Linked DNA regions of Homo sapiens: all the other regions are linked to region 4. Evidence: promoter capture Hi-C in 16 types of primary human blood cells and fetal thymus (Javierre and others, 2016). All regions are on one chromosome and are shown on one strand. Each heading gives the region's core, a stretch centred on a gene start or on the middle of the fragment in contact. The rest is flanking DNA. Distances are from core to core; before and after follow the strand shown. Region 1 has its middle 120 kb from the start of MIR3194. Region 2 overlaps ATP9A (ATPase phospholipid transporting 9A (putative)). Region 3 has its middle 140 kb from the start of MIR3194. Region 4 holds the start of BCAS4 (breast carcinoma amplified sequence 4).

The links. The method cuts DNA at HindIII sites, captures the fragments that hold promoters and counts their contacts. A CHiCAGO score of 5 or more calls a contact.
Region 1: a fragment that was not itself captured here is called in contact with the fragment with the promoter of BCAS4 in region 4 in 2 of 17 cell types (endothelial precursors and total CD4 T cells); the score reaches 8.3 in endothelial precursors.
Region 2: a fragment that was not itself captured here is called in contact with the fragment with the promoter of BCAS4 in region 4 in 1 of 17 cell types (naive B cells); the score reaches 5.4 in naive B cells.
Region 3: a fragment that was not itself captured here is called in contact with the fragment with the promoter of BCAS4 in region 4 in 13 of 17 cell types (total CD8 T cells, total CD4 T cells, naive CD8 T cells and 10 more); the score reaches 14.5 in total CD8 T cells.

Annotation. Positions count from the first base shown.
Region 1 is chr20:51,325,557-51,330,591 of GRCh38, reverse strand. No RefSeq gene overlaps it. Among named protein-coding and RNA genes, the nearest start is that of MIR3194, 120 kb to the left of the region's middle. RefSeq lists an enhancer at 1,636-2,514. The HindIII fragment of the contact is 1,204 bases long and covers 3,108-4,311 here.
Region 2 is chr20:51,595,503-51,601,239 of GRCh38, reverse strand. It overlaps ATP9A (ATPase phospholipid transporting 9A (putative)), which reads left to right. Exons shown (of 28, transcript NM_006045.3): 28 at 1-4,726. The coding sequence ends at 29. Among named protein-coding and RNA genes, the nearest start is that of NFATC2, 56 kb to the right of the region's middle. The HindIII fragment of the contact is 2,854 bases long and covers 1,598-4,451 here.
Region 3 is chr20:51,307,287-51,312,970 of GRCh38, reverse strand. No RefSeq gene overlaps it. Among named protein-coding and RNA genes, the nearest start is that of MIR3194, 140 kb to the left of the region's middle. RefSeq lists enhancers at 69-1,057, 1,058-2,047. The HindIII fragment of the contact is 307 bases long and covers 3,023-3,329 here.
Region 4 is chr20:50,792,580-50,797,741 of GRCh38, reverse strand. BCAS4 (breast carcinoma amplified sequence 4) reads right to left here and starts at 2,681. Exons shown (of 5, transcript NM_198799.4): 1 at 2,569-2,681. The coding sequence starts at 2,658. RefSeq lists a silencer at 2,129-2,948. The HindIII fragment of the contact is 4,840 bases long and covers 1-3,149 here.

The DNA of each region.
Region 1 (5,035 bases), core at 2,460-4,959, 530 kb before region 4:
GACTGCCTCATAGGGCTGCTGGTGCGAGGCCTCAGTTCCTCACTACGTGAACTTTGCCATAAGATTGCTTGAGGCTTCACAGCATGGCAGCAGGCCTCCCCCAGAGTGAGTGACTCAGTTTTACCACTTGGAAAATGGGAATAAGAAAGGCACCCCATAAGACTGTCATGAAGATTAAATGTGACAAAACAATGTAACATATTGGTATAGTACCTGGCATTCAATACATGTCCTCGAGAGAGAGCAAGGTGGAAAGCACGTTGTGTATATGATCTTGCTGCAGAAGTCACTGCCATGCCATCATCTATCTATCATCTATCTAATCAATCAATCTATCTATCCATCCGTCTATACATCTATCCACCATCTATCTACTATCTACCTATCATCTATCTACCAACTGACCTATCATCTGTCATTTATTTATTATCTGTCTATTATCTACTATCTGTCTATCTATCTATTTATCATCTATCTAATCAATCCATCCATCGATCCATCCATTTATCCATCTGTCTATACATCTATCCACCATCTACCTATTATCTACCTATCATCTATCTACCTATCATCTGTCTATCATCTATTTATCATCTGTCTATTATCTATCTACCATCTGTCTATCATCTGTCTACCCATCTGTCATTTATTTATCTATCTATCTATCCATCCATCATCTACCTATCATTTATCTATCTACTTATCATCTGTCTATCATCTATCTATTCATCTGTCTATATATCCATCCACCCACCGACCCACCCATCCAGCCATCCAGCTATCCATATTGGGTGACACAAGTCATCCCTATTCAGTATGGTTGTGAGTACCAGGAGGCAGGGATCCCTGGGGCTCTCTTGGAAGCTCACTCCCACAGCCAACCAGAATATAAGTTTCATGGGAATAGGGCTATGTCTGTTTTGTTCACTGCTATATCCTCAGCTTCTAGAACAATGCTGAGTACCTAATAGATTCTTAATCTAGTTTGTTGAATGAATGAACCAGACAAGGTGAAACTTAACCAGTGAAAGCAGCACATGCAGGTCTCTCTGAAGACAGACAGAGCACAACCTCTTCAACAGTGGTTCTATGAAGAACTCCAAGCATTTGCTACAACATCAGGGGAAATGAAAGAAGAGGGAGCAGCTTCTGTACACAAAGCCACTTCTTCATAGTAGTCCCAGAATGTTCTGGTATGCGGGAGAGATGTGGCAGTTTGTGTTGGAAAGGACAATGGATTTGAAGGTGGGCACAGAGCACGCGGCTGCAGTGCACCCACGTGGACACCCTTCTGCGGGCTCACCTGGTTGGTGTGGGCATGAGAAGATCAGGCACCTAACCCTGGCTTGGCACTTAAATCAATAAAGTTTAGTTTGTTATACTTAAGCAGGCGTGATCACACCCACTCTGCCTAGTACCCAGGAATATAGTAAATTCATTAATTCACATCACTCATTTACTCATAACTCTTGACTTCATGGAGTTCACAAGTTAGTGAAAGACTCAAATGGATTGATACATTCTGAAAATAGTGCCACACAATGTGTTGTGCTGTTGTTATGTGCCTTGATGAATTGCTGTTTCGTTTATTGAGCACCTACTGTGTGCGGCCACTGTGCTAAATCTTATATGTATCAGCTGTATGCAGTAGGTGCTCTTAATCCTCTTTTTACAAGTGAAGCTATGCAATCTCAGAGAGGTTAAGCAACTTGTCCTAGGCCACCCAGCTAGTAATTTGGATCTAGGTTTTGTGACCTCGGAGCCTTTCCTACTATGTGGTAACTTTTTGCTTAGGGACGTTTTAAATATCTACATTTAAACTGACAGTGGGAGTAATATTTCTAATAAAAGCCCTAGTCAATTCACTTACTGCCATTTGCCTTTTAATGTAATAATTGTGGTGGATTTGGATCATGTCAACTCAGCTAAGTTGGAATTCTCAGAATTCCCTTCCCTGCATTGTTTCTGGTTAGCATAGACCAAAAGACATTTTGAGTGAGACCCGGGAGGGGGAAGCGAAGTGGCAGGTAGACTGCTGCCATGCTTGGAAGGTGGGCATGGAGCACGCGGCTGCAGTGCACCCACGTGGACACCCTTCTGTGGGCTCGCCTGGTTGGTGTGGGCAGCAGCTAAGCCTGCAGCTTCCAGTCCCTGTGGATCCTCCTTAGTGTCTCTGAATCCTGGCAGAGGCCTGTTTAGTTCCGGGATGAAGAATGCCACCTTTTCCTGCAGATCACCTGAGTGAGTAATCACAGATGGCTGCTTGGAGGTGGCAAGAGATGGACGGGGGGTTTCCAGTCTGTCATCCCGGGTTCCAGCTTGTCCTGGTGGCTCCAGTTTGTCGTCACTCCCTCCCACTTCCCATCCATCCTTCCTTCTTGGTGGCTGCCCTGCTGACTTGAGGATCCAGCGTCAAATTCAAAGAAGCAGCCCCATGTAGACTGGTGAACCAGCTCCCCAAGTTGCATAAGGTAAATCTCTACGATAAATCCCTCCAGTTGATTCTGCTGTGGTCAAACCCTGATACAACAATTTAAGCCTGAATCTCATTTCGTGTACTTTAATATATAATAACTCAAGCCTGTCTTCATTCCTCCATTGTTTTCAAATATTTAAAGCAAATACCTATGAGTATGTGAGGGATACCTATGTCTGCCACACATCATGGTTAAAACTCTGTTTGAAGATTTTAAAAAGCACCTTGGCAATGCCTGGCAGGTCTGTCTGGAAAGGAGCAGAGAGGCCAGGGTGGGAGGGAATCCCCCTGCCTTCGACCCAGACGCCTTGGTTCTCCCAAATCACTTGATAGATTTTCCCCAGACCTGTCCCTGAGGCCCTGGACTTGGCTGTGGCTTTGAGGGCGGGAACGCCTCCGAGCTGGCCGCTGGGGAACGCGGACTGTCTAGTGGAAAATCCTGATGCCAACTAGAGCTCTGTGTCGTAGGCACACGGCTAGACTGGAGGGACGCGCCCACACGATAGGAAGTGATGTGTCTTGCTGGACAATGCCAGCAGATACTATTTGATATTTATAAACTTTTCCAGACTCTCAGAGCAGAAGATGAGCAGCTTCATTTTTACAACCACAAATAGTACATTCCTAAGCTTGTACGTGTGTGTATACATATATGCATTAGAATGACTGAGTGTAACTCACAAAAGAAGAAAAAACAATGAAGCAAATCCATGACTGAGTTTCCATTGGCCTAAAGGAGAATACAATAATTCATAAATACCTCTCCATTTATACAAAGGAAGAAATGCGGTCAGGCACGGTGGCTCAGGCCCCTAATCTCAGCACTTTGGGAGTGCCGAGGTGGGAGGATCACTTGAGCCTGGGAGTTCATGACCAGCCTGGGCAACACAGCAAGACCCTATCTCTACAAAACTTTTAAAAATCAGCCAGGCATGGTGGTGTGCGCCTGTAGTCTCACCTATTTGGGAGGCTGAGGTGGGAGGATCGCTGGAGCCTGGGAGGTCAAGGTTGCAGTGAGCCATGATCAAGCCTCTGCACACCAGCCTGGGTGACAGAGTGAGATCTTGTCTCAAAATAAAATAATAAAATAAAATAAAATAAAGAAACAGCAATGAACAAATGGAGGTCTGTGAACTTCCATTTATCCAAAGGAAGAAAGAACATTTCACAGAACCAGAAACATTCACAAAATCTTCTCTTTTACAAAGGTGGAAAGACTAGCCTCAACTGTTTACCCCAGGAGGTCAGAAAACTATGACCCACAACTGGCTGTTTTGGTAAATAAAGCTGTATTGGAACACAACCATGGTCACTCTCTTACTTATTGTCTATACTGCTTTCATGCTACAACAGCCAAGTTCATTAGCTGAGACAGGGATGTATGGCCCACAAAGCCTCACATATTTATTATGCAGCCCTTTAGTAAAAGTTTATGGACTTCTGGTTTATTCCATAACCTTTGGGACCACTGAAGCATCCTCCCTATTGCTTTCACATTTTCTTGAATAAATTGAGCCCCTTACACCTTCAGCAGCAGGAAGTCTAATACTTCCTCTTGAGCACCTCACTTTCTCACCACTCCCATTATCCAAGAATCCTGGGATTTACATGGTCCAAAGAGGATCAGTCCTATTTCCAAACAACAGAAACCTACACTAAAGCCATCAGGTCTCATGGCCACCAGGGGTCACTGTTAAGCACAGGCTGTCCTCTGAGCTCAAGATCCACTGCTCCCCAACACAACGCTGGGACTGCTGGGGCCTGACAAGATTCCAGCTCAGCCAGTAGCCCTGTTAGAAGCAGTCCCCTGTGAACCTCATTAAGGCGCTCAAGCTTTGGCCAGGTGCTCCCACCCTCTTGATGATTTCTTGTTCTGGATCCGTCCCCAGCCACGTGGGTTTCCTGTCTTTCTCCAGTAGATGTTAGGTGAGAGCCCCAGAGTCCACTCTGATGGCTTTTCCCAACTTCAGGTCATGGGGAGCAATGATGGATATCTCAGTTCCTTCCTTCCCTAGAGAACCTGGCTCCACATGCAAACGGATGCAGCTCCCCCAACCCCATCCCCAGCAGCTAGGTCTTTCTGGTGAGAGACGTGCTTTGGTCAGGTTACAGGAGTTCTTTTACAACCACCCTCAAGAAATGTCCCCTGTTCGCATTAACTAAGAAAGACCATTTCATTCCTAAACAAAGAAGATTTATTGCAAGGAGAGGCGTGGACAGGTGCAGATACCTAAAGAAGATAACCTGGATCCAATGTCGCTGGGTCTTTGTTCACACCTCATAGCTTCTTCCCTGGTGGTTCAGGCAGCTTCTGAGATGGTCTCTGTGATCTTCACTTTCTTATATTCATGCCCTCAGGTAATCCCTTCTCCTTGGGTAATTTCCATCAAACCAACAGCATACCTCAATATTGGGGGAATGCCACATCTGTGATTAGATTACAGAATAGTTGGGCTTCCATCTTGCTAGCAGACCCTCTCCCTCGCCAGCTGTGAGGAAGCAGCCTGCCAGGTTGGAAGGCTCACATGGTCAATAGTCAGCTCATGCTGAAATCTGCCC
Region 2 (5,737 bases), core at 1,775-4,274, 800 kb before region 4:
CCCCCAGCTACTCAAAGCTCACATCATAGGCCGTGCGTTCGCTGGAGGGGGCCCTGGTCTTGGCGCTTCCCTGATGGACAGAGCTCAAGTTCCATTTATATTAACCGCCACCTGTGGATTTTGCAGTAATTGCTAACACATGCAGTTTTAATGGGAAGTGGCTCTGCGCCTAAACGGAGTCCTAACGCTGCATCAACGGGAGGGAGGGTCCTGAAAGAGACCCATCTGGGCCTGTCTGAACCCCTCGTTCTTCATGTTTAGGTGAATATGAATATGTTAAAGCTGGTGGCTCAGCTGGGAGATTTATATGGGTCACTGTGCGAGCTTCCTTATGACTTGAATTTTGTTGTCACATGATAAAAGTTTCTGTGTAGCTGAAGGTTGTAGAAGGCTTGTGTGTGTGTGTGTGTGTGTGTGTGTGTGTGTGTGTGTTTTTAAAGAGTCCTAATGTGTATGTACTCTTTATGTCTTTCTTGCTCTTACAAAGAGGTGTCAGAAAAATAGAAAGCTCTTGGTGTCGGTTTGGGAGGAAAAGACAGTGACATTTGGTAAAAAGTTATCCACACAATAATCTCCATTCGGAAATGCTCAGTATCGTCTCCAGCCAGCCCTGCTTATCCAGGTTACACTGGATTCCTGGGATCGTAACCAGTAAATGAGAGGAGAGGGAGAGAGAGTGTCCTAAGTCCAATCTGTTATCCTTGATCTGATTCAGCATCCATAGTGTGTGAGTTAACTTCACCTGCCACCTCGTAAAAGAATTTCAGAGGTGTGATCCCGCTTTATTGGGACCTGGTAACAATCACAAAGCCAGTGGCTGTTTGAGAAGGACCTCAGACATTTTCAGCAGAGTTGTTTTAGCAGGAAACGTGCCACTGAATGGCCCCTAAATGTGTCGACAGTGTGATAAGAGACTCAACTAATTCTTTAGGCAACATGGCAGATGTGACTCAGATCCTCCAAGACCAAAGCGGAAAGGTCAGGGGGCTGGGACTCTTCTCTTCCATAGAAGCCTGTTTCCTGTTAGGAGGCATAATGGAAGATGACCCCACAAAGGCAGAGGCATCTTTCGGAACAACACTGGTGGCAGCTTTCAGAACAAGGAACCCCTGGTGGGAGGACGCCCAAGCTACAGCGTTGGGATCTGGGATCTGTTCCACTGCCGGCAGATTTCAAGGGGAACTTGCTGAAAGGCAGCCAGTGGTGAAGATTTCTCCCCTCCCAGGATGGACTACATGCCGGCATGTTTCTTATAAAGCTGTGGCTGCTTGTTTCAGAGGAAGGGAGTTTGCAGTCGCGGGACGTGGTAGAGCAAGGCATTCTTGGGTTTTCAAGTTGCTTCTTGCAGAAGCCACATATGCATGCCATAAGGGTTAAGTTGGTGGATCTTTAAGAGCCAAGTGTGGTTGAGATCTTGGATTTGCGTTTACTTCTTGATGAATACATATCCTTCAAACCCTCTGCCTGGCGCTACTTCTGTGTGCTTCAGAGATGTACATCACAGCCTGGTTTCTGATGCCTACTAACTCCTGCTCTTGGAGAGCTGGAGACACGAGGATCAGATAGTCCCTTGCCTTTGGAGCACTCTTGATAAGCTTTTGTATTTTGTGTTGTCCTTTTAAAATGTTCTAGAATGACTTTACGTTGCAGGTACTGGTTAATTGGCTGTTGACACCACATCTATTTTGTCTTATGATTCTGCAGTTTTGCAGTACTTTTCTCTATCTGATTCAGCCATTTCTGCCAGAGGGAAAAGGTCGGCAGAAAAGATGTATTGAGTGAATAGTTAAGGATAGGATCTTTGTCCAAAAATTTCAGAAAGATTGAGCAAATCTGACGTATTCATTGAGTGAGTTTCTGTGTTTTCAAAGGTGGAGGAGAAATTTGTGCTGGAAGTTTTTAAGCCTCCGTTTTCTTGGAAATCAGTCTGTAACACTGGCAAGTCTTAAGATAGTCCCATTTAGACTTTGCAGATGCTGAACCTGGCTCTGTAACGCTGGGAAGTCTTAAGATAGTCCTGTTTAGACTTTGCAAACCCTGTACCTGGCTTTGCTCGGAGATTCGGGATGCTGGCTCCTGCAGGCAGGGCGTGTGGGAGCCTCGTCAGAAAGTTTTAGAGGTTTCCAGCAGAAGCAGAATGAAGATGGTCTCCCTGGCCTTTTCCTTAATTCTCAATTTTGATTGAGGTGCACAAGTTGACTTTTAAAGCCAACGCTTAAGATACTGATTGACATCTTCAAGGGAGAATGCTCCCAGGAGGGGCTGAAGAAGCCATAGTTGGAAGTGGAAGGTACTCGTCAGTGTTCTCCACAAACCTTTTTACTCTGTTGTCTCAGCCGCACTGGGGCGGAGGCGGTCAAGGGTGAGAAGTACCGACACTCAAGTGCAAACTGCCACGTCGTTGGCCCATCCCATCAGTGGGCAGCTGGCTGACGCCATTCACTGGACGGTCCCTGAACACCTAGGAATGCACACACCGTGCTTCTCAGACACTGGAGACGCAAAGGCAGGAGGATGCAGTCCGGTGAGAGGACACGATCTTTACCTGCACAATCAGACTGTAAGCCCAGCAGAGAACCCCAGGGGCGCCTGGGTACTTCTCGGAGGTCATCTTAGTTGTGGTGGGGAAGACAAAGAAATAAGCAAACAAGAAACTAGAGTTACTATACAAGAAACTCTCCTGAGTTTGTAAACCTTAAGCATAAGGATTCAGTTGACCTTTTTCTTGGTTCATCAATCTGGAAAGAACTTACATAAAGCGCCATTGACACTGTCACCTGGGAGCTCCATGGGCCGTAAGTCTTTGACAGCCAATTTAATTTGAGGTCAGAGGGCCTTGAGGTACACAGTCAGCACTGTTTGAACACTTTTCCTGAAAGCAAAACTCACAGCTCCCTGCGCCCTCTGACAACACTAGCTATTTCTGCCAGAGTAAGAACTTCTATTACTATTTTATTATTGTTCATATGTCTTTTGATGATGGTTGTGTGACAGGGGGAAGCAGGATCTATTTGGTTTCTTCCCCTCCCCCCACCCCTTCCTTTTTGTCTCTCTTTTTTTTTCTCTAAGAAAATCACCAGACTAGTTTTTCCATCTTGAGTAATTTCTTATGTGGGACAGTTTTGATCCTCATTTTGAAAGCATGCGTGTGCACATGTGTGTTGCCTGTGGTGCCAGGTGAGACAGGTGGCACTAACTCCAGCTGCTTGGAAGGCATCCCAAGGGCGCATCTTAAAGTTGGAGCAGACCTCCCTTTTCCAGCCCCTGGGGCCATTAGACCACGTGCTGGAACTAGCATTGTAAAATTCCCATCCCAGTTCCACTCCCCTGAAGTGAAACCCTTTTTTTTTTGTGACAGTAAATCTTAAAAATCATTGTCTCTTTATGAACATTTCCTCAGTTTCTTCTCTGCTGAAAATGTAAGCCATGCTACTTTTTAATGTATTTTGAATTTTGTGCTCATTGGAAATTGATATGCTAATGCCTCCCCCACCCCCCGCCAGACTTTTCTTTTTATACTTTGTCTTGTTTTTACTGGGGTAGGCTGGGCATGCGTGCGTGCCTTTAGGGCAGCATTTTAAACCTTTGCCAAAATTGCAAATGGGACATGTACATTCTTCTGCTCCATCCTACTTAAACACCTATCAGCTATTTTTATCTTTAACCTTTTCTGTATGTTTGAAGTGTGTGGGGGGTGTGTGTGTGTGTGAAAGAGCGAGAGAATGATGTCATCTAAAGTTTTTTGAAGAATTATTTGGTTTTCATTGCATTAAAATTCTATCACTCCCAGCTTTGTTTTCATTTAAAAAAATATACAAAGAGCTTTGTAAATACAACACATTTTATTTCTCCCCCTTCTTTTAATGTACAGCTTTTTTGCCACTTATATATACTTAAAATATTCCCATGAATTATGTCCAGTTCTTCTTGGAAAAAAATTTGGTTTTGAATGAACCTGCAAAGCATCCTGCAGCGTGAGCAGCTCCTCCACCTGGAGCTCCGAAGCATCTTCTCAGGCCAAAGCGGCATTACCCGTGAATCTGTCTTCTCCGCCACAGCATGGTTTGAGGCGCAGTCTGTTAATATAGCTGGGCCATGTCAGTGACTGTTGTGTTTGTGGGGTCAGGTGGGGGGCATGGTATTTGCAAAAAAAACAAATTATGGCTAATTTATTATTTTGTTGCAGTGGGGTTAACTGTAAACTCATGTAAGAGTCTGTGATTTCCTCATTGGTTGATCTCTCTCTCTGTAATCCTCATTGCAAATTTTCACCAGGACAGCGTTTTTTGATTAGAGGGGAGCTCTGGCACAGTATGCTTTAATTTAGCAGGAACTTCCAGATGATTTAAATTCTCGATGCTGTGATGACACACATATGATCTTTCGTGTTTCTGAGCGACTCTACTTTCATTGTTTGCCAGCGTGGCTCGTTGCTGTTGCCCAATAAAGCTTGTGTACGTTCTGCCTTGGGGGATTATTTTAATTTGTACAGAAACATGAATTCTGGTATCAAAATGAGGACTTTTTATTATAACGCTCCTATTTTTTCTTTATTTCATGGTACATGAAATGTAAAGAAAACTCTTTCCAGTTCAGAAAATTATTTTGATTTTGGCAAAAAAAACCCCAAATCAATGCATGTTATTTATTATTTTGTACTATTGTCCATCCCAGACGTGTCAGAATTTCAAAAGGTGATAGATATAAATGGAAAATAAGATGAAAACCATAAGCTTCATATTGTATTTCTATACACGGTCCTCGATGACTGGAATCTTTTTTTTTTTTTTTTATCGAGGGATGGAACATATAGGAACAGTCAGTTAAGTTTTAGGCAGAAAAAATTTTTAAGGCCCGGCGCAGTGGCTCATGTCTGTAATCCCAGCTTTGGGAGACCAAGGCAGGAGGATTGCTTGAGCCCAGAGTTTGAGACCAGCCTGGGTAACGTGGTGAAACTCATGTACAAAAAATACAAGAAAACGAGCTGGGTGTACTGGCTCAAGCCTGTGGTCCCAGCGACTTGGGAAGCTGAGGCGGAACAATCACCTGAGCCTCGGAGGTCGAGGCTGCAGTGAGTCGTGATTGTGCCACTGCACTCCTGCCTGGGCAACAGAGCAAGACTCCGTCTCAAAACAAAACAAAACAAAAAAAGCTTTTGTGTAGGAAGTAGTTGAAATCAATTGGGTGATTTTTGTCCCTTGGGGGACACGTGGCGGTATGAAGACCTTTTCAGTTGTTACAACTCGGGGAAGAGGAGTGCTACAAGCAAGAGATGCTGCCGAACACCCTGTGATTCACAGGGTGGCCCCCACAACAGAGCCCAAAGTGTCAAAAGTGCCAACATTGAGAAACCCTAATTATTTTTTTTCGAGGTGGAGTCTTGCCCTGTTATCTAGGCTGCAATGCAGTGGTGCAATCTTGGCTCACTGCAACCTCCGCCTCCCAGGTTCAGGCGATTCTCCTGCCTCAGCCTTCTGAGTAGCTGGGCCTGCCACCACGCCCGGTTAAGTTTTGTATCTTTAGTAGAGACGGGGTTTCACCATGTTGGCCAGGCTGGTCTCGAACTCCAGGCCTCAGGTGATCTGCCTGCCTCAGCCTCCCAAAGTGCTGGGATTACAGGCATGAGCCCATACGCCCAGCCAGAGAAACCCTAATTTAATTGGCACGTGTCAGCTGTACCATTTGTCTGTCTGTATTTGTAAAAGGGCCCGGAGGTATAAGCTCGTGTGTCTCAGGA
Region 3 (5,684 bases), core at 1,927-4,426, 510 kb before region 4:
TTTCAGAGTTTTTCAGATTTGGGGATACTTGTATTACACTGAGCAGCTGAGCATCCCAAATCTGAACACTTGAAATGTTCACTGTAGCACTTCCTTCGAGTACAGCATCAACACTCACACCATTTTGAGTTTTGGAGCATTTTGCGTTTCAGATTTCAGATTCGGGATGCTCAACCTGTGTACCAGAAAGGCTGACATCTACTACCCAGCTTGGTTCAAATTTGTTTTATGACTGAAGTTATTTAATACATGTCATAGAGACAGGAGACAGCCAAGGGTCCCCCCACAAAACTCCGCCTTCAAGCCTAAAATGGCCTGAAGGCTGAAAAACCCGGACTGCAGGTCCTGGAGAATCTCTGACCTGCCTGAGCACTGGGAGGATGGGGTGGAGTCTCAAGAAGTTTGTGCCGTTTGCAAGGGAAAGGAACCTGGCCTCTCCTGTTCCTGGATAGTAAACTGGGATTCAAACTATGAGGTGGGAAGCCTTCTAGCAGGACTCTCTCCTGCTTTACTGAGATTTATTTTTCCTTTTCGCCTAATAAATTCCATTTCCCCTCACCCTTCAAAGTGTCTGCAGGCCTAATCTTTCCTGGTCATGTGACAAGAACCCTTTTTTTTTTTTCCCCCTACAACACATGTATTAGGGCATTCTTGCATTGCTCTACAGAAATACCTGAGACTAGGTAATTTATAAGAAGAGAGAGAGGGAGAGGAGGTGCCACACACTTTTAAATGACCAGATCACGCATGTAAAGCAAAAATAAAATTCTAAGCCGCACAACCTGCTGATAAACCCTCCCCTTGGCCAAGAGCATTCTAAAATTAACTGGAAAGACGAGTTCGGGTTATCATGGGAAGTGAAAGTCAGACATGCCTCCTTATACCCTCCTCCCCCTCCCTTTGGAATTCAAGCACAGTTGACCAACATTAACATTAAAACAGAGATCTTAAGACAGATAGAACAGACTTGAAGTCTGATAAACATTTACAATCTATTCTCTGTGAAGCCTGCTTTGGGAGGCTTCATCTGCATGATAAAACCTGGGTCTCTACAACCTATTATCTTAACCATTCCGTCTGTGATTCCAGGTCTTTAAATAATAACTCTTTAAGCCAATTGCCAGTCAGAAAGTCTTCGACTCCGCCTATGACCTGGAACCCCGCCTCCTCCAGTTATCCAATTGTCCCGCCTTGCCAGACGAAACCAACATGTATCTTACATGCATTGATTGACATGTCTCCCAAAAATGTATAAAATCATTTTGTATCCTGACTACCTCGGGCACATATTCTCAGGATTTCCTGGGGCTGTGTCATAGGGCCACTGGTCCTTCATACTTGGCTCAGGATAAACTCTTCGGATATTTCGCAGAGTTTGACACTCTTCATTGACACTCACTATTGCAAAGACAGCACCAAGCTATTAGGAATCCACCTCCATGACCCAAATACTTCCCACCAGGCCCCACCTCCAGCATTAGGGATTACAATTTGACATGAGATTGGAGCAGGGACAAATATCCAAATTATATCAATAGATTTGTATTGAAAAGTCAGGCCACATGCAGTGGCTCATGCCTGTAACCCCAAAACTTTGGGAGACTGAGGCAAGATGATTGCTTGAGGCCAGAAGTTCAACACCAGCCTGGGCAACATAGTGAAAGCCTGTATCTACAGACAGTTTTTTTTTTTTAATAGCCAGGCATGGTGATGTGGGCCTGTAGTTCCAGCTACTCAGGAGGCTGAGGAGGGAGGATCACCTGAGCCCAGGAGTTGGAGGCTGCTGTGAGCTATGAGCATACCACTGCACTCCAGCCTGGGTGACAGAGCAAGAATCTGTCTCAAAAAAAGAAAAAAGAAAAATTACACATGTGCAGAGAACTATACGTATCATAAATGATTGGCTCAATGAATTTTCCCAAATTGGAACCAGCCTCCAGATTAAGAAATCATCTGTTACCCTAGGGAGCCCCTCATGTGCCCATGGTTGATTTTTTTAGGAAACAAAGCATGGCAGATAAAATTGGTCCCTGTGAATAACCTGCCCACTCCATTCTTCTCTCTCTCATCCCAGAGGTTTCATAATCCTAAATACAATGCTTGTTATTCCCATATTTGCCTTTACATTTATAGAACATATGCACATATATCCCTGTGCAACAGACACTTTTGCTTTCATGCTTAAAACTTTATATAAGTAAGATACTATGCTTTTCTCATTCTAAAATGATGTTCTGAGGTTTGTCCATTGTCGTGGGTTGCGACTCTCTGGGGTTGGTGTCATATAGGTGGTGAAAAGAATGTACCAAGATAGCTGTAGGTAAAGAAAGGCAGATTTACTCGAGAAAGCGCTGCAAGGAAGCAATGGGCAGGTCAGCAAGAGGGGAGCTGACTGCAAAGGGACAAAGCTTGCTGGAGATTTTATACGCTGGTTCTTGGGCTGGAGAGGGCTACGTGCTGTACTGATAACACCAAGGTTGCAGGGAGCTAACTTGCATTTTTCTATCAGCCAAGAGTCTGGTAATAGCTGGGCACAGGAAGACTGTGAGTTATATTGTGCAAGAGGTCCATGGTCCTGCATTGTGTCCTGGAAAGGCAGACTTACAGCTTATCTGCTTTCTCTTTTTGCTTTCCCTTTGTCCCACCAGCCTGACTCCTCCTCCCTAATGAGAACTCCACATCCATGTACATCAATGAAGCTGTAGTTGTTTTTGCTGCAAATATGTCACAAGGCATTTCTCCACTCTCCCATTGATGGACACTTTAATGGTTCCTAATATTTCTCTGTTACACACAGATGCTGTTATGAGTCTCCTTGAGTATGGCTCCAGCATGCTGGAATGGGAGATTGTCTGGAGTAAAGATACGTAGGGGTGGAACTGGTGTATCATATGATGTGGGTATGTACAGTTTTGCTCTCCACAGGGGTTGTATCAGACTCATAGGAATTTTAAACTGGGGACAGTATCAATGACTACTGTACAAAAGCCACAAACCATAAGCCCATGGAGCTAAAAAAGCTTGAATAATATTTGAATCACCAATGCTAACATTTACAAATAGGAAGAATTCATACAAAATCCATATTTGTAGCTTTTTGTGAAACGCTGGGCAATTCTGGGCCCAGGCAGCTGCAGAGGTGCTTCTTGAGGCAGAAAGAGAGGGGGAGAAACACCCCAGCCTCTCTCCTGCCCTCCGAATTCTGCCTCCCATGGCCAAACCCAGCTGGCTCAGAGGCCTGCAGGGGTCAGCCCTCCTGGGGTTGACCTCATCCCTTTTCTGTGCCACTTAAACATGGCACAGTGTTCTCACCGACTTGATCTCAAGCTTCTTGAGGGCAGGCAGAAGTTCCTGGGCATCAATCTGTCTCCAGAGCCAGGCTGATAGCCTGGTCCTAGCAGGAGCTAGATCGGCTTTATGTTACTGGAAGAAATGCAGACAGTGACCCTTAACCAGTCTCTCTAACTAGTCTCTCACAGATTCCAGGCAGTTCATTAAAATGTTGAATTATAAATGGACAGAGAGTCAATATTTTAAGTCTATGGACCATATGGTCTCTGTCACAACTATTCAGCTCTGGAGTTGTATAGCGTCAGGGGCCATATACAATGAGTGAGTGAATGGGTGTGGCTGTGTTGCAATAAAACTTTATTTGCAAAAACAGGCAGTGGGCCATATTTGGCGGTGGGTTGCAATTTGTGGCCCCCTGCTATGGACCATGATGTAATTGGTACAACCTGGGTTTACATTTGCACAGCTGTTAGCAGTAACCCTGGGAGTCAGGCCACCAAAAGAGTGCTGAACTGCTCTTTGCTAGAAGTAAAGAGGAATTTTGAAGAGGGAACACTGCAAAGAGAGGATGGGAGAGGAGAGGGGATGAGGAGGGGAGGAAAGAAAGATGAGCTGGACAATAGGACAAGGGGCTGGAGCCAGATGGTGAACATAGCCGGGAGGCTTTTGAAGATGAGGGAGATGCAGCTTTCAATTGTAAGATGTCTTTGGTTACTGATCCAAACCTTCAGTAAAGTCTGCTCTGTCCCCACATGCCTTTGTGAGTGGTTTGTGTGTGTGTATGAGAGTTAACAGAACGTTCTGTCTTCCCAAGCACCAGGCAGCTCCCCAGCACTCAGCCCCGCTCAGTGCAGGCAGAATGAACCTCACTGATTGCTACAGCTACCTAGAAAGGTAGCGAAGAATCTGAAGGTCAGAGAGGTTAACCCAAAGTCACACAGCCAAAGAGAGAAACAGAAACCAAATCCAAAGCCCTGATTATTTCCTTGATTGCCCAAACAGCTGGAAACTTGAAATCAGTTTTTCTGTTTCCTGGAATGAGCTTTGGTGTATCCCTTTGAATGTGGGTTGGATTCCTGGGGATTTAGCCTCAAACCAAACTCTGAGGCCAGAGTAAGGTGAATTAAACCTGGGGAGGTGCAAGGGAGGTTATCTTATGCTCCTTCTTCCCTCCCCTGGACCTGGCCCCTGCCTTGGGTACTTCCCCACTACCCTGAGGCACCTGCTTCTGGTGGGGGTTGGGGCGGGGTGGCGAGGGAAGGGGTGACCTGGGCTCTGTCTGCTTCTCTGGGAATTAGAAAGGGGGTGGGGTGTTTTGTCATCTCTGAAGCCAACACCTGGGTTGACATCATCCAGCTACCTGGCACCTTTTATGGCAGAAGGATAATTTGGCCCGGGCCATTTATTCACAGAATCCTCCAGTTTAGACTTTTGACATTATCTATAAACAAACTTAGATGTATCATCATTGAATCTTATGCAAAAAGCATTACTTTGTTAAACATAAACACTTATATTTTACCACAATTCTGACATCCCTTTTTGCCTTAAACTTTTTTAAAAATATGGGATGGCTTTGGCTTTCCTCAGCCTCTGAGAGACTCTCATTAGGTGTCAAACCCAAGAGCTAAACAAAAGCTGATTTATGCAAAATGTAAGCTCGTCACAAGTCAATTAGGGCTCAGACAGGCTTTTGTGACAAGCACTTTCTAATCAATTCCATCCGGCTCTCTCTGAGAGTCTATGAGAGAATAAACACAATAATGACATTAAAATGGGCAGTGGGGCTCTTCACCTTCTTGGGGTTCCCATACCTTTGCCCTCTGACAGCTGCTCTAGGCCTTTACCCAAGGAAATGTACAGACATGAATGCAGCATTTTGTTTCCAATTTCAGGGATGTCTAAACTACATCCACGGACTCCTTAAGTCCCCACATGAAGAAATTTTGGGGCTGGGCATGGTGGCTCACACCTGTAATCCCAGCACTTTGGGAGGCCAAGGCAGGCAGATCACGAGGTCAAGAGATCGAGACCAGCCTGGCCAACATGGTGAAACCCCGTCTCTACTAAAAATGCAAAAATTAGCTGGGCGTGGTGGCGAGTGCTGGTAGTCCCAGCTACTCAGGAGACCGAGGCAGGAGAATTGCTTGGGCCCGGGAGGCGGAGGTTGCAGTGAGCCGAGATCGTGTCACTGCAGTGCAGCCTGGGCAACAGAGCAAGACTCTGTCTCAAAAAAAAAAAAAAAAAAAAAGAAAGAAAGAAAGAAAAAAGAAATTTTGGTGGAGCCTTTTTAAATACACAAATTAAAAACAGTAAAGAAATATAATTCCTGATCGATGCAATTGTCCCCCAGGCGTAGTCTTTAAGCACACATTCTACAGCTCCCAAATTCA
Region 4 (5,162 bases), core at 1,432-3,931:
GTGAGCCGAGATCACACCATTGCACTCCAGCCTGGGCAACAAGAGTGAAACTCTGTCTCAAAAACAAAAAAAATTGCATAGGTAGCTCACATTTGTAGCTCCAATTATATTTCTATTGGACAGTGTTTATGGATACATGCTCATGTTATTTTTAATTTTTAAATTTTTGTTCGTGTTATTTTTAATTTTTTATATTTTAACATTTTTTTGTAGAGACAGGGGTTTCCCTGCGTTGCCCAGACTGGTCTTGAACTCCTGGTCTCAAGTGATCCTCCCACCTCAGCTTCCTAAGTCGCTGGAATTACAGGCATAAGCCACTGTACCCTGCCTCCATGCTATTTTTTTAAATTGAGATATAATTCACAAACCACAAAATTCACCCTTTCAAAGTGTACGATTCAGCAGTTTTCAGTATATTCACAAATTTGTGCAACCAACACAACTATCTAACATCCAGAACATGTTCATTACACCAAAACGAAGCCCCATACCTTCCCATTAGTAGTCCCCACACATTTTTCCATGCTATTTTGAGTAAAGAAAAGCAAGTTGCAGGACAGTATTACAGCAGCAAGTGAGGTTTCATTTAAAACTAATATAGATGGGCCAGGCATGGTGGTACATGCCTATAATCCCAGCACTTTGGGAGGCTGAGGCCAAAGGATCTCTTGGGCCCAGGAATTCAAGACCCGCCTGGGCAACATAGTGAGATCTCGTCTCCACAAAATAACTTTGTTTTAAAAGTTAACCTGACATGGTGGTGCGCACCTGTGGTCCTGGCTATGCGGGAGGCTGAGGTGGGAGGATCACTTGAGCCCAGGAGGTTGAGGCTACATTGAGCTATGATTGTGTCACTGCACTCCAGCCTGGGTGACAAAGTGAAACCCTGTCAAAAAAAAAAAAATTAAAAACGTCTGTTCAAAAATTATTTTAAAAATATGTGGAGATGGCTGGGCGCTGTGGCTTACGCCTGTAATCCCAACACTTTGGGAGGCCGAGGAGGGTGGATCACGAGGTCAAGAGATAGAGATCATCCTGGCCAACATGGTGAAACCCCGTCTCTACTGAAAAATACAAAAATTAGCTGAGCATGGTGGCACACGCCTGTAGTCCCAGCTACTCGGGAGGCTGAGGCAGGAGAATTCCTTGAACCTGGGAGGCGGAGGTTGCAGTGAGCTGAGATCATGCCAATGCACTCCAGCCTGGTGACAGAGCAAGACTCCATCTCAAAAAAAAAAAAAAAAAAAAAAAAAATATATATATATATATATATATATATATATATATATGGAGAAAAAGAAAAAGAAAAAAGAGAAAACTCATATATATGTATATATATATATATGGAAAGATATTTTATGGTTTTTTTTTTTGAGAGGGAGTTTTGCTCTTGTTGCCCAGGCTGGAATGCAATGGCTGATCTCAGCTCACTGCAGCCTCCGCCTCCCAGGTTCAAGCGATCCTCCTGCCTCAGCCTCCCAAGTAGCTGGGATTACACACCCGGCTAATTTTTGTATTTTTAGTAGAGACGGGGTTTCACCATGTTGGTCAGGCTGGTCTCGAGCTCCTGACCTCAGGTGATCCACCCGTCTCGGCCTCCCAGTAGTGCTGGGATTACAAGCGTGAGCCACCAGGCCTGGCGAGATAGATTTTTTTTTAAATGTCTCACTCTGTCGCCCAGGCTGGAGTGCAGTGGCATGATCAAGCCTCACTGCAGCCTCACTCTTCCCCGTCCCCTATCCCCATCCCAAGCAATCCTCCTGCCTCAGCCTCCCAGAATGCTGGGACCACTGGCATGAGCCAATACTCTGCCTAGGCAGATACAGATATCTACATTTGTAAATGCATTTTAAATGTCCGGAATGATTTATACCAAACAGTTAATGCTGGTTTTCTAAGAAAACTAGAATTGGGGTGGGAGAGAAAAGAGAAAGGGGTGCATAGCCTTTATGTTAAATACTCCTGTACTGCTTTTGTGGTTTAAAAAGAGAATGGGTTGAATTTCTGACCGTAAATAACTCCTAGTGAACTCAGACAAATAACTTTTTCACAACAGCGTCGACAGATGCCTCCAGCCGGAAGGTAGAGGGTCTCGTTTTAGATCTGCTTTTCACTTGGTGCTTTTAAAATAGAAAGCGCAGACAGAGGCGTGGTGTTTTCGCTCCGAGCTGCAGCAGCGCAGCGCGGCCCGCACAGCCGCAGCCTGAGGCGCCGCTCGGCCCGGGCACCGCTCGGAGGTAGCCGGGGCAGCAGAGGTCCCGGGGTCCGCCTCTCCCAGGGCCGGCCTGGCAAAGGGCGGCGCCTGAGGACCCGGCGGATGCTGGGGGACCCGGGTGGGGAGGGAAAGCGAGCCTGGGCCTCCGGGGCCCGGTGTCGCCCGGAGGAGCGAGCAGGGACGACCCGCTGCACATCTCTGCGTGGCGCCCCGCAGCCACCCTTCAGGAAGGGGGGAATCCCCGGGCCCCCCACTCCGGGAGCGAGAGGATGCTCCGGGGAAGCCGAGGGTCCGGAGCCCGGACCCCTAACCGCGAGAACCCTCTCCTCCAACTCCACAGCCCCGTCCCCTACCTCGGCCCCAGGCTCGGGGGTCAGGAAGAGCGCGAGCTCGCGCGCCCCGCTGCGCATGGGCTCCGGCTGATCAGCGTCCACGAGCAGCATCAGGAGGGCGACGGGGTCCGGCTGGCGGAGGCTGCCTGGGAGCCCGTGGTTGCGCCCGGGCCTCGGAGCCCCGCCCCCGGTCCGCTGCATGCCCCGCGGACCGCCTGGCGGAGGCGGGGCAGGTGCGCTCCCGGCGGTCGCGGCTCGCAGCTCCAGGAGCGCCGGGCCGAGCGGGCAGCGCCACCCAGTGGCGAGCGGCGCGCGCTGCGCCCGCCCCCGCAGCACCTGGGCATCAGTGCTTTGCAAACTCGCTTGCAGATGGCAGTCACCTGGAGCTCTTTTAGAATTTCCCAAGCCTGGACCACACCGTCTCTGGGTTAAGACCTGGGCATCAGGATCTTTTGATGTTTGTTAGGTGGTTCCAACCAGATTGTTGACCCAAAGCTAAATTTGAGAACTATTGGGGCAAGCCACCCCTCCCCATCGGAATCCCGGTAGAGTACAGGCTCCCGGCCCCGGACCCGGCCGTAAAATAGAATCCCCGGGAAGCTTTTAAAAGCCCGGAAGCCAGGCCTCGCACCAGGCCGATTAAGTTGGAATCCTTCGGAGTGGGGCTTGGGCATCGGTAGTTTCTAAAACTCCCCGGGTGATTCTAACGGGCGTCCGGGTTAGAGAGGCGCTAGCTTAGAGGAAGCCCAAAGCCGCCCGCCCCCCACCCGTTCCCATCCTACTAAAGCATCTAGTTTGCATCGGGCGGAGGGTCCTGGAATTTAGGGAAGGCCGAGTGTGACGGTCCTCGTCTTCCTCTTCGGTGCGGATTTTAAAATAAACTTCACCAGGAAACTATTGAGCGCACTACATTTCACAACCGCACCCACTCCCTCCATGCCCTCGGAGGCCGGCCTAGATAGACCCTTTACAAGCCTTGGGGCTGAAGAGAGCGAGGTGCGCCTCATCTCCCACCCCAACAGTGCTAATGAGGAAAGTACTAAAAGGCAAATAGGTATAAGACAAGTCTGAAGTTTTGATTTTTCGTTTGATGACTTATTTTTATTTTTAATTAATTAATTTTTTTTTTTTGGAGACGGAGTCTCGCTCTGTCGCCCAGGCTGGAGTGCAGTGGTGCGATTTCGGCTCACTGTAACTTCCACATTCCGGGTTCAAGCAATTCTCCCCCTCCCTCAGCCTCCCGAGTAGCTGGGATTACAGGCGCCTGTCACCACGCCCGACTAATTCTAATTTTTGTATTTTTTAGTAGAGACGGGGTTTCGCCATGTTGGCCAGGCTGCTCTCGAACTCCTGACCTCAGGTGAGCCACCTGCCTCGGCCTCCCAAAGTGCTAGGATTACAGGCGTGGGCCAGCGCCCCCTGCCTGCTGACTTTTCTTTAAATGTTAAATCGCCTCACAAAAAAAAAAAAAAAAAAAGGCTGAGCTGCTTGGGCAAACATAAGGAGACTCCATCTCTCTAAAAGAAAAAAAAAAATTAAAATTGCAGGATGTGGTGGGGCACAACTGTAGTCCTAGCTACTGGAGAGGCAGATGCAGGAGGATTGTTTGAGGCCAGGAGTTCAAGGCTACCGCGAGTTATGATCGCACCACTGCACTCCAGCCTGTGTGACACAGTGAAACTCTGTCTTTTGTTGTTGTTGTTGTTTTTTAAAAAGGAGGGGCTGGTATCAAGGGTGCAAATAAATATATAGGACGTCCCACACCTTCCTCTCCATTAAATCTGAATTTATATTGTAGTTGGCCACCCTAGGTAGGGGCCTAAACAACACATGTTTGACCTGCCTTTTGTGTAGTCCATCACTGCACAATTCCCACTTCCAAATCTGTCCACTGCTAATTTCTCCCTATCCAAATATCCAGGCCTTCAGGCCAGTCATTTTCTGGAAAATTCTTGGCAAAGACTTGGGCCTCAAGTGCTTAAGGGTTTTATAGGAACTCACTGAGCCCACACTCGGCCATTCGTCATTGTCATGATTTCCCTGATGCTCTGAGCCCTCCTCGCCATCCCCTGGGAGCCGGTCTCAGACCCTTGCCCTTGCCTGCTGGCTAGGCATCTCCCACAAAGAGCCCAGGACTGGCCTCAGATCACCAAATTGACCTGAGCACAGCAAACTTCTCCTGGTGGATAAATCTCAGAAACATAAAGCTAAGGAAGAAAAGTCGTGTTGCAGAAGGCTCTGTAGGGCACTGTGCCATTAGCACAGTTTTTAAAACACGCAGAACCACACTGTATATTGTTTATGGACACCGACAGATGGAGCAAAAGTACAAAGCTGTGCATGGGAACGACGTACCCCATGTTCCAAAAGTGGTTACTTTAGGGCGGGGGAGAAGAAACTGGAGAGGGGTATGGGAGGGAGGGATTTCTTTTTCTTTTCTTTCTTTCTTTCTTTTTTTTGTTTTTTGACAGAGTCTTGCTTTGTTGCCCAGGCTGGAGTGCAGTGGCACAATCTCGGCTCACTGCAAGCTCTGCCTCCCGGGTTCAAGCGATTCTCCTACCTCAGCCTCCCCAGTAGCTGGGATTACAGGAACAAGCACCACCAAGCCTGGCTAA